Linked DNA regions of Homo sapiens: all the other regions are linked to region 2. The links are contacts of gene promoters, found by promoter capture Hi-C in blood cells and fetal thymus (Javierre and others, 2016). All regions are on one chromosome and are shown on one strand. The core of a region is centred on a gene start or on the middle of the fragment in contact, and the rest is flanking DNA. Distances in the headings are between cores, read along the strand shown. Region 1 has its middle 5.7 kb from the start of TTK. Region 2 holds the start of ELOVL4 (ELOVL fatty acid elongase 4). Region 3 overlaps LOC124901351 (a long non-coding RNA gene).

Region 1 (4,184 bases), core at 839-3,338, 51 kb before region 2:
TCAGGTATTATTTAATCATGCAGGCAATAAACTATGCTAACAAACAGCAGAAGAAAAGTAGGATTCTCAGTTCCTATTTTTCTTTTTTCTCCAATATGAAGAATAGCAGTCAGACTGACAATCTTAAAAATAAATACAGGACAGGCTATATAAGAAAGACATTTAAATTCCATCCAAACTCTCTGACACAAATGAAGTGTGTGTGTATGTATGTGTGTGTGTGTGTGTGTGTGAGAGAGAGAGATAGGCTCTGGCTTTGTCACCCAGGCTGGAGTGCAGTGGTGTGATCTTGGTTCACTGCAACTTCTACCTCCTGAGCTCAAGCCATCCTTCCACCTGAGACTCCCAAGTAACTAGTACTACAGGTTCATGCCACAACACCCGACTAATTGTTGTATTTTTTGTAGAGACAGGGTTTTGCCATGTTGCCCAGGCTGGTCTCAAACTCCTGAGCTCAAGCAATGCACCTGCCTCGGCCTCCCAAAGTGCAGGGAAGCATTGTGATGGTCTGTGATTACCATCACACCTGGCCATAATTTTTTTTTAAATGTATCCAGGTTGGGTGCAGTGGCTCATGCCTGTAATCCTAGCACTTTGGGAGGCTGAGGCGGGGCAGATCACCTGAGGTCAGGAGTTCGAGACCAGCCTGACCAACATGGAGAAACCCCGTCTCTACTAAAAATACAAAATTAGCCAGGCGTGCTGGTGCATGCCTGTAATCCCAGCTACACGGAAGGCTGAGGCAGGAGAATCACTTGAAACTGGGAGGCAGAGGTTGTGGTGAGCCAAGATCTCGCCATTGCACTCCAGCCTGGGCAATAAGGGCGAAACTCTGTCTCAAAAAAAAAAAAAAAAAAAATATATATATATATATATATATATATCTCCATACATTTTCAGTCTCTGCTATATAGAGAGAGCCTCACGTAGTTGGTTAATATACCACAATATCCTGAAGAAAATAAGCAGGATATTGAAAAAAAACGTGCAAATATAATCCCAGAAACATTGCTGGCAATCTCTGAAAAGTCATAATAAGTAGAAGCAATGATAGAAAGCCAGAAATGGATGGACAAGTGTTACCTTTTTGGAAAAGGTAGAATTTGGAAGCTATTAATCTCTATAATCTCAATGTAGATTTTAGAATTTTAGACCCCTTCTGGGATCAATTACCGAACTGTTTGGAAGCAAAGATCTCTAGAAGCCAATGTAAATGCATTAAGAGCAGGCTATATAGAATATACTAAGTTCTGATTTTGATTGTTTGTATATTTAGAAAAGGGAAGGCCATAAATACAGACTATCTTAACTTTGGCAAATAAAATGATAAAGGCTCTCTTACTGCTTTTGTGGAAGAAAGGAGCAAGTAATTCCCATATGGTTAATGTGAAGTATTTCTGCAACTCTGGATCATTTTTCTCCAAGATCACTTGTTAATAGTTTGAGAACTTCAGGTTGATCCCTAGTAGAAGGTCTCAGAACTCTGTCTGTGGTTTTATTCTAAACTACATATCTTATCTGTGTCACAAACATATAAAAATAATGCTTAACTTTTCATATGAATTAAAAAAAGACAAAATTAGAAGATACTTTAAAAGGACAAAGTTGATAATATGCAATTTATAGAGATAAATGTAAGTCTGTACATTTAGATTTCTAAAAATAATAAAATTATCAAATACACAGTTAGAGTCTAGCCAAGATGAAGAAACATGGTTCAGATTTATTCTCTGAAACAACAGTAACAACAAAAACTATACAAAATAAATGAAATAATGGTTTTCAAGCATCAGACATCAGGCAATACAGTACAGTGATCCTTAAGAATAGTGAAACAAACAAGTGAGTCATAATGTTGCCTCCAGATTACTTACTGGTGAGAGTTTCCAAGCTTCAGTGTACAAAGGGAGAACCCAGGCATTGCCTGGTATTCTAAAGTTAGGAAGATGGAGTTCATAGTCTGGAATGGCCAAGGCAGGTGAAGTTCACAGGACAGCGTACCAGAGAAAAAGAGCAGAACAGAGAGAGAATTCTGGAAATCTGCAGAGAATGTCCTTGAGTCTCCAGCTCTGTATTGGTAAGTGCAAGTGTATGTGGAAACTATCACAAGACCAGAGGAAGATAACAACCAGGGGAAAGAATAAAAGGGAATAATGTCAAGAGCTCATAAAGGACAAGAAATAGTTTTTGTTCACAAAGCAACAAGTAGAAGACTCATGATATTGCCTTAGAACTGGAGCAAAATTAGCCCTACAGCATGCAATGGCCCAGTCTATAAAAGCTTAAGAGCAAACCTTAAAAGGATCAGTATTTATAGAAATATGAGAAAATCCAACTGGGTCAAATTTACAATGTCTGGCATCTAATTAAAAAATTACTAGGCACTTAAAGCAGGAAAATGTAAATCTAAATGAGGAAGTGGGGGTGGAAATCAGTCAATTAAAACAGATGCAGAAGTGGCACAGATTACCCACTAATAGACAAACAGTAATTATAACTGTATTCCATATGTTCCAGAAAGTAGAGGAAAGTGTAAACATGTTAAAAAGAAATATGGAATATATGAGAAGACCAAAAACAAATGTATAGAGATGAAAAATGCAATACCTGCAATAAAAATTATATTGGATAGGATTAATAGCAGATTACAGTCTGGAAAACAAAATATCCTAAACTTGAAAACATATCAATAATAAACTATGCAAAATAAGGCACAGAGAAGCAAAGAAACAAAAATACAAAGAACTTCAGTGAGTTGTGGAAAAACAATGTGGCATAATGTACATGTGATTGGAGTTTTCACAAGAAAGAAGGGAGAATTGAAGAATATATTTGAAGAAAAAATGGCCAAAATTTGTTTAAATATGTTGAAAACCATAAACAAACAAATTGAAGAAGTTCAACAGATTCTAAACACAAAAAACTTCATGAAAACAACACCTGTGCACATTATTACATTGGACAAAACTAATGATAAAGAGAAAATATTAAAAGCAACCAGAGGAAAAGTACAAATTAGATATAGATGAACAATCATAAGAACAGTAGACTTCTTGCCAGAAACAATGTAAGCTGGGCAACAATGGAGTGACATCTTTAACCCTTTTCCCATTTAGGAAAAAAAACTACAGTTGCCTGCCATCACTCATTTAATTTTACATAAACATGCTTTTTGAGGCTGAAGCAAATCTGACTGATTTTCAATGTGAAAATAAAATCTAAAAACTGCTCTTGGAGTTATTTCTAAACGTAACTAACATCAGAATTGTCTGAATCATCAGTATTGTCAGTTTTGAAAAAATTGGATTCATCAAATCAATCTTCAGCCAACAACTGTTTGAGAATGATGTTAACATCACACGTAGAAATGCTGTGTTTTATAGGATTTGACATTTTCAGCAATTGAGAATTACTATGTTTTGTAAATGGAAATACAAAACACCAGTACTAAAAACAGAATATTGTAATACTGTTATTATTTTATTTATTTTTTATTTTTTTGAGACAGGGTCTTTCTCTGTTGCCCAAGCTGGAGTGCAGTGGTGCGATCTCGGCTCACTGCAATATCTGCCTCCCAGGTTCAAACAATTCTCCTGCCTCAGCCTCTCAAGTAGTTGGGATTACAGGTGTGTGCCACCATGCCTGGCTAATTTTGTATTTTTAGGCTGTTCTCGAACTCCTGACCTCAAGTGATCTGCCTGCCTTAGCCTCCCAAAGTATTGGGATTACAGGTGTGAGCCACCTCACCTGGCCCAGAATGTTGTAAGTAGAATGATGTCTTTGTTTCCAAAGTCAATGTACTAGAATGATGCAAAAATAATAAAAGTGAGATATTTTGTGGCAAATTTATCTCAGGGTAAACACAGCAGCTACAGGCATGTATTCTTGGGGCAAACAGGAAAAGGGTTAAAATGCTGAAAGAAAAAGAAAAAATAATTCTATAAACCTAGAATTGTTATTTCCAGCAAAAATATTGTTCATTATGAAGGGAAAATAAAGATTTTTTTTCAGACATACAAAAGCTGAAATAATTCATCACCAGTAGAATGGCACCACAAAAATTATTAAAGGAAGCCTTCAGGCAGAAAAATTCTGAATCTACATAAAAGAATAAAGAATACTGGAAATGGTAAATATGTGGATATGTAAAAAGATATTTTTCTTATTTTTGAAATCTCTTTAAG
Region 2 (4,278 bases), core at 681-3,180:
TGTTCTGGTTCTTGGTATATGTTTAGACAGCTTATAAATGTAAATAAACATTCTACTCTTACAGGTGGAGTGTGGACACGGTGATATCCGTGTGACCGCCATTCCCAGCTGAAGGTTATCTCATCTATGATTTTCTTATACGTGACTGGCACCCCCTAGTGAATAGGGACTTAAGTTGACCTCCACGGTAGAAGAAATACCAGGGAAATACCTGAAGCTGTTTTAACAATTTCTCCTTGTATTAAGTATTATGCTGCAGTTTTGCGTGTGTGAATGGAAGTATGGGTAGAGATCTGTTCTCCCTAAAAACTCCAGGATTCCACAATATAGAAATAGTAATCAAATTTTTAGGTGAAGCTCGAACTAATCCGAACTTTGTTAGATCATCACTGTAAATGAATGGGTATTTATCCACTCCCTAAATGAAGAGACTTGACTGGATTTCTTTTTTTTATATAGCTACTAGAATCTGTTACACATAATTTAGGATTGAGACTTGAGAAATTGTCATTCCAATCCAGAAAACTTTAGATTTGCAAATATATTTGACAAATTAATAAATTAACATTTTATTTGGTTAATTTCAAGAATAGGGCATTTAAAGAAGTCTGTGTTTGCTTTAGTTCGGCAATAAAGTTCCTGCCACTCACAATAATCCTTATTATTCTCTGAAAGACATGTTATATTTTTGTCATCATAAATATTTATTAATTACTGTTTATAGCACTGGGTTAGGTACTCATCAAGCAACCAAAAATAATTCTTACCATCTAGGATGCTTCCAATATAAAATATAGACAATATATAACCAGGTCAATTGGGAAATAGATCATTTCAGTATGATAAAAGATAGTATTCACATTAACAGTGTGAAAGGGCAGGAACAATAAGACACTTGACTCACTGGTCTTTAAAATGTAGCATCCAAAATGAGCAAGTGGAGAAAAGGTTAAACAAGTAGGTGACACATTTAAAAAACAAGTAGATGAAAGGACTATTCTCAAAAATCTTGTTTTATGTGAGAAACCATCAAATTATGAATTCCAAGTACTGTATTTTTTTTACTTTTCAAGGGTAGGCTCTCCTATACCTTATCTAAACAATTTTTCAAAATAGCCACAATTACTTTGTTTTCCTCTCTACACTAAATTGCCCTTTGCCTCTTGAGCGATTATCTTTTTCAGATTCACCTCAACTTCTTCAGGTTCAAGCGGACTTCACCTGTAAGCCCCTCTCGGTTCTCCCTCTTCTCTGAACTACTAATGGCCTAATTTAGCACAATTATATTGCTTTGTTCATTCCATGTATAGTAAAAGAGTCTACAAAACACATGCAAGCATTCATGCAATTATATGTTGATTTGTTCATGGGTCGACCCCAAAGTCTATTCTCCATCGCTGAAGCATGGAAGACAAATACCCTTCACTTCTTCAGAGGCATAACACATGCACTTCTCTTGTCATGGTGACAGGCATGTGCTGGTGGAGGTCAAAGAAACAGGAACACAAGTGAAATCGAGGTGAGTGTCAGGTAAGGACCAAAGCACCACGCCTACCTCATCTTTGCCCACAGAACACCCATTCTTCCCGTGTCCTGTTTCCCAGGACGTATCCGGGGCGGATAAGAAATCACCCGTGGGGAGGCGGTGAACTCCTCCGCAGGGGCCGATGCCCGGGACAGGGGCGGGGAAGGCTAATGAGGCGACTTGTGCGGGGAGGGGCCAAGGAGGAGCCCAGGTGTCCCGCTCCCGCTCGACGGCGCGCGCCTGCGCGAGCCCAGTTGGCGTCGCACCCTTGAGCGCAGCATCCCTACGCCAGCGAGTCCCAATACTAGGGAGGGAGGGAGGGAGGAGGGGCGGCCGGCCCCCCGCCCCCGCGCGCGGCCACGTGACGCCGGCTGAGGAGATTGGAGGGGCGGCTGCGCGAGGCTGCAGACTGGTGCAGCGCACTGTGCTGGCGGCTGGGCCTCCTCCACCTCCTCGTCTTTCTCCCGGGAACCTTGACGACGCCTTCCGCTTGGCCCTGCCTTCTGCCGCATCCCCGCCGCCGCGGCGCCTTGAGGAGCAGGAGAAGACGCAGCCGGGCCGCCGCCGTTAGAGGGGTTCCCGGCCGCCGCTCGCCCCGTCGGCCGCCACCGCCTCCGGGGTCAGCCCTCTCTCTGGGTCTCCGCTTTCTCCTGCCGCCAGCGCCCGCTCATCGCCGCGATGGGGCTCCTGGACTCGGAGCCGGGTAGTGTCCTAAACGTAGTGTCCACGGCACTCAACGACACGGTAGAGTTCTACCGCTGGACCTGGTCCATCGCAGGTAAAGCCGCTGACTTCCCCATCCTCGCTCGGTCCCCCGCGGGGGGTCACCGGCCCCTGGTCTCGCAGCTCCCGGGCCCGGCCCCACAGGCCCCCGCGCCCTGCGGCTTTCGGATGCTGCGGATCAGCGGAGGGGCCGGCGCGGGCACTGCGGTTGAGCACTGGTTAATCTGATCCGAATGTTAAGGCCTCCCCTCCCCCGACACTCGCAGGGTTTTCTTCTGAGCTCCCTCCATCTCTCATCAGCTCTCGGATGCGGGAGCTGACATATCAGATGGAGCCTGTGCAGCCAGGAGCTCCTCGCAGGAGCCGCCCCACCCTGTGCTCCCACATCTCCCGAGCTCGCCTCCCTCTTCCCCGTGCACAGGATTCCTTTTAACATTTAGTCCTATTTTGTATGGAGAGCGGGCTGGGGAGGAAGGAGGGCTTCAGGGGCAGCTGAAGGTACAGGAGGTTTCTTCAGCCTCCTGGTCGCTTTGACAGAACCCTGCTAATCTTTTCTTCTATCTAGCTCCTTCATCTATAGTATAATTCGGACTGAAAAGTAAAATAATATTGTTTGGCTCCTTGAACCTTGAAGAATGTTAGTTTCCGAGGCATTTTCAACAGCAAATATGTTTGAAGTGATTGTCTATAATGGCTTTGCGCACTGCAGTGCAGTCAGGGGGAGGGGGAGGCCAAAACACCGGGGAAGAAATCAGTCTTTAGGAAGGGGGTCTCTACAGCAACACCTAGAGGTTGTCCCAGATGCCTACATATATACAGTTCTTAAATCAGCAAACTTTTCTTTAGCTGTTGCAGTTAATTTGGCAGGGCTGTCAATTGTTTGATTTATGCAGCTTTCCTAGCGTCCAACTGTGATATTATATTTTTACATTGTACTGTTTATTTCTTCATTTGCTTCGCTGCTTTTGATTTTAAAGCATTTAAAAGTCTTTGAAATCTAAAATAAGGTTTAAAGGATTTCAGAAATGATTTTACGAGGTCAATTTTTCTGGTCCTTTTGCAGTATCACACTGCATCCTATCAGTGAAGGATATTAACGTTCCATCTTATGACTCTGCCTTCCCTACTTCGAAATGAAAATGTACTCCTGTAGTTTTTGTGTTCATTGTTGTTAGAGGAAATTAGACAGTGGTTACAGCATGAATGTAGTCCGATACATAGGGCTTATGTTTTGGGAAAAACGTATGCTGGAATTATTTTTGTGAGAGACAAAATGATTATTTGGCATTAATACTGCATTCACTTCTTTAGAAAAGTATGTTCTTTTTCAGAAGATCTCAACTTTGACACTGGGAAATAAGCTATTTAATAAGCCATTACAGCTGAAAATGGTTAAAAGGCAGTTTTCAATGGAGTGTTTCTTCAGTTTTTTTTTTTGTTTCTATGCGCTATTACACTGATGTTACACTGTACCTGCAAAAACTGGGAAAGATGTGCCCTTCCCTTCACGTCTGTGATTTCGGTTCTTTAAACGTTGCATCAGGGCTTCCCATTACACAATTGTATAGAGCTGAACATCAGACAAGTTCTTTAGCAGGTAATTGCACTTCGCACACCTAGGAGTCAGACACTGTTGAGATACTCCAGTCTCCATATAGCCAGAGCCACACCCAGGAGTTCTCGGTCCTGTCATTCCTATCCTATCCCGGAGCTTTCCCATCTCTTGAGTCTCAGAAGGAAAAATTGAGGGCAAAGGTAGAATACACCTTTCTGTGATGGTGAATTCCTTCCTGATGATGTTTGTGTAAAAGAAACCACACACACACAAATGAAACAGGAAATTTTGTGCAGTTGCCGCATGTGAAAGCTTGCTACTAGGCTTCGAAGGGCATATAAAATAATATAATATTGTGGGCCAAGCCTGAGAAGTGAGAGTAGCCTTAGAACACAAGTGACCTCTCACTAGCAGGCCGAAGGAAGGTATTTGCCTATGCTTTGACTATCCACTTACGAAACCTGAGACTGCTTCC
Region 3 (4,043 bases), core at 120-2,619, 34 kb before region 2:
TTAGTCTGATTAGAGTTCCACTTGCGCCATGGACACACAGGATAGTGACAGATGTACCTGTCAGAGGCTCACTCCCTGCTTTATCTGATAGGGAAAGGCTGCCCAGGGAGTGTCCAACAACTGGACTAGTCCTGTCAGAACCCACAGGTGCCTCTGGGGCAAAGAAGGGGGCAACGAGGGTGCCTTTCCTCTAAAATCAAGCAGGCTGAGAAAAACTAAGAAGCTCCTTCTCCATCATCACTGTAGATGAGTGCAGGATGGAGAGACAGAAGAAAAGCAAACAATGATAAAATGGTAATATTTATTTTGACAACATAAGTATCTTGTAGAAAATAAACGATTTGAATTTTAAAAATCAAAGGTGAGGGAAAGAGTAATAGGAATTCAAGGGAAAACAGCATTCCTATATTAGTGAGTAAAATAGATGAGGTTTTAAAAAACAAGGATCTCTGGGACAATACATTAACAAAGTTTTGCTATTTGATAGTTGGTGAATTAGAATTCAAAATTATAGTCATTTAAAAAATATATATCTTATTATATAATCACATCAAATAAACTCATATCAATATATAATGGTAATAGTAACAATAGTAATCAGTCCTAACTTCCTGAAGGAAATATCACAGAGTGAAACAAAAAATGACAATGTTTTATATTTGTAAACCACTTTACAATTTTCAAAGTGCTTTCACTTAAATGGTCCCATTTGATCCTCATATCAGTCTATGAGATAGGCAGCACAATTTTTTCTTTCAGCAGTGTGCAGGTAGGAGATTGAAGCCTAGACCAGTTTAGTGATTTGCCCTGGGGGTATATGGCTTGGATATACCAACACTAGAAATAGAATTCTGGACTTTTGCTTCCCAGTGCATTTTTATTTCTTATCAAATGGTTATTCACAGCTCTACAGTTTCTGTCATTGAAAATAGACATAAATTTCCAGAGGTGAGTAAAGCTTGTCCATAGATAGGTATAATTCACAGTATTTATCCATATTGGATTGATACATTTTAGGGTTGACCCTTTTCATGTATTATTAAAATAATGAGAATCAACCTAATAAACAACTCAGCTTACAACTTTCCTTTGTACTCTCCAAAAGTCTCTTCGATCGTAGTTCCGTTGGCAGATGTAGCTTTTGAAGAGCATCGCTTCTACCTACTCCACCCTTTGACCCAGTTTCTACCAAAAGCTGGCACCACAGCTATTATATTGCATATATTGCAGAAGCTTTGAGCTTCTTTAAATCTGTCTCAGCAATTTTCAACCAGGCTATTTAATTCACCCAGGAAAGGGCAGAAGTAAGGAGACATATATGCAAGGATGTTGTCAGGTTCATTCTCTTTCCCACCTATTTCCTAGGTCCATCCCTTTCCTACCAGGCTTAGGAGTAAAAATACAGATGGGTTAGGAGAGAGACTGTATTTTGTTTCACACAGACCTTGAGAGGCCATACCAACACTGTCAGCTCTGAGGGATCCTCAAAAGCCATGGAAGCTTCAGCTGTGATGCAATTCCATGGAGAACATCTTGTTTCACTGAAAACTTTCTGGTTACCATGGGCCCCGCTTATGATCAGAAAAGATCCATCCTAACATTTGTGAGATCCAGGGCAATAGTGCAAATAGAGGTCCATATACTATTTGTCTAAATATTTAAATGTCATGTAAACGAGCTGTAATATTAAATATGTTCTCTCCTTCTGTGCAATAATGGTACATCTGTAATAACAAAATTGAAATACATGTTTGACACTACAGTTTCATGTTATTGATAGTTGGCAAAAAAGAAAAGTTATTTGAATTTAATTATTACTCTATTTTTGGGATTTTTTTTTTTTTTTTTTTTTTGAGACAAGGTCTTGTTCTTTCACCTCGGCTGGAGTGCAGTGACTCACTATAACCTTGAACTCCTGGACTCAAGTGATCTTCCCACCTCAGCCTCCCAAGTAGCTAGGACTATAGGCACATGCCACCACACCAAGCTTTTTCATTTTTTGTGGAGAGAGGGGTCTCACTATGTCATCCAGACTGGTCTTAAACTCATGAGCCCCCATGTTCAGCTGGGATTTCTGTTGATAAGCCAATCATTTTTGAATTATAACATGAAACAATATAATTTATAAGTTATTTATAAATTGATTTATTTCATACATTTATTTTTCTTACTTTCATTAGAAAAATATCACTTATTATGTTGTGTTAATTAAGACTTTCAGACAATTTATGTTCTATTGAGAGTACTAACCTAAAGGACTAAAAATTTTTATTTATTTATTTATTTTTGAGATGGAGTTTTGCTCTTGTTGCTCAGGCTGGAGTGCAATGGTGCGATCTCAGCTCACTGCAACCTCCACCTTCAGGGTTCAAGCAATTCTCCTGCTTCAGCCTCCCAAGTAGCTGGGATTACAGGCATGTACCACTATGCCCGTATAATTTTGTATTTTCTCAGTAGACATGGGTTTCACCATGTTGGTCAAGCTGGTCTCAAACTCCTAACTTCAGATGATCCACCTGCCTTGGCCTCCCAAAGTGCTGGGATTACAGAGATGAGACACCATGCCTGGCCAGGGCTAAAAATTAATTGTAACCAGGCAAGGTGCCACCAGCCTGTAGTTCCAACTACTGTGGAGGCTGAGGCAGGAGGACCCTTTGAGTGCAGGAGTTCAAGGCTGAAGTTTGCTATGATTGTGCCTATGAATAGCCACTGTAATCCAGCCTGGGCAATCTAGTGAGACCCATCTTTAAACCAAATAAAGCAAAATTAATTATAATTACAAAATTTCAGCAAAAATTATAATAAATATAAAATTAGAATTATTTTTCGTGTTTTTTCAAAAAGTCATTTTTTATATTCAAAATTATTTATTAAACTAAAAGTCAAAATACAAACTAATGCATATACAAAAATTTAATCAACATTATCTAAAGTTAAATTTTAAAATTCATTTTTGAAAATTTAAAACATTAGATATTTTCATAAAAATAAAACTATTCACAATTCTAGCATTAAATGTTCATCTAGTTTTCAATATAAGAATCAATATCACATTTTATATATGTCATAGCTAGATCAGCATTGTCCAATAGATACAGTGCAAGCCACATATACAACTTCTAAATTTTTTACATTAAAAGTTCTTCCACATTAGAAAAATTTAAAAGAAAACATTAACATATTGTTAGTATTTATTTTAATATATTTTATTTAATCTATATATTAAAATTTTTTGCATTTTTTTATACTGTCTTCAAAATTGAAAAACACACAAAAGTATATTTTACAATTATAACACTTCTCAGCTGGACACATTTCAGGTGCCCAAAAGTCACACGTGGCTAAGGTTACCATATTGGACCACAACATGAATTCTTTAATATTTCAAGTATTACTCCGTTGCCATGTGCAACTATTGCAAATACTATCTTAATTGAAGGCTTTCAGACCCACAGATTGACACACAAAGAGAAGCAACAAAACGGATTTTCCACACAACTAGGAATAATAGTAAGAGGAAGAACTTGACATGTTAACATGTCCAAGTAACTTGTCTTTTCTCTTACCTAAGCACTTCTACCACTCTAATCCTCGGAAGCAGTGTCCATCTCCGGTGGTGGTGCAATCCACAAACCATCATGGATGCAACTGCCTTTTGTTCCAAAGGACACAAGACAAGAGGCTGGAAGCAGCATTTCCTTGGGTCCCAAAGGAGGGTTAGGCATAAGAGTGGATCTTTAGGGATTACATGCTACATTGTGCAGTGTGGAACATCAGACAACGAGTAACAGAAATACCATTTGTTCATTAATTCATTTGTTGGTGCATTTATGAAAATTACAGCTGAAGGAAGAGGCTGCACTTGCTCAGGTATGAGGAAGATACTGGATCAGGGCAGTCCCAGAACTAACCTGGTTTCCCAGGAACGCATTAGAAAAGGAAGGGATCAAGACGGGCCAGGTCTCTCAGGACTGTGCTAGATGAGGGAAGATGGGCTGGAATGTGAATCTTCATGTAGTAATAGCAGTGTTCCAAGAATGAGA

The links. Contacts are between HindIII fragments. The CHiCAGO score rates a contact against its expected background, and 5 or more counts as called.
Region 1: a fragment that was not itself captured here is called in contact with the fragment with the promoter of ELOVL4 in region 2 in 1 of 17 cell types (fetal thymus); the score reaches 7.6 in fetal thymus.
Region 3: a fragment that was not itself captured here is called in contact with the fragment with the promoter of ELOVL4 in region 2 in 1 of 17 cell types (fetal thymus); the score reaches 5.4 in fetal thymus.

Annotation. Positions count from the first base shown.
Region 1 is chr6:79,996,811-80,000,994 of GRCh38, reverse strand. No RefSeq gene overlaps it. Among named protein-coding and RNA genes, the nearest start is that of TTK, 5.7 kb to the left of the region's middle. The HindIII fragment of the contact is 390 bases long and covers 1,894-2,283 here.
Region 2 is chr6:79,945,205-79,949,482 of GRCh38, reverse strand. ELOVL4 (ELOVL fatty acid elongase 4) reads left to right here and starts at 1,930. Exons shown (of 6, transcript NM_022726.4): 1 at 1,930-2,303. The coding sequence starts at 2,204. LOC124901350 reads left to right here. Exons shown (of 2, transcript XM_047419628.1): 2 at 1,472-2,096. The coding sequence starts at 1,668. The coding sequence ends at 2,096. It overlaps LOC124901351 (a long non-coding RNA gene), which reads right to left and starts at 1,678. Exons shown (of 3, transcript XR_007059656.1): 1 at 1,556-1,678. RefSeq lists a silencer at 1,821-1,870. The HindIII fragment of the contact is 8,446 bases long and covers 1-4,117 here.
Region 3 is chr6:79,978,981-79,983,023 of GRCh38, reverse strand. It overlaps LOC124901351 (a long non-coding RNA gene), which reads right to left. Exons shown (of 3, transcript XR_007059656.1): 3 at 2,978-4,043. Among named protein-coding and RNA genes, the nearest start is that of TTK, 24 kb to the left of the region's middle. The HindIII fragment of the contact is 267 bases long and covers 1,236-1,502 here.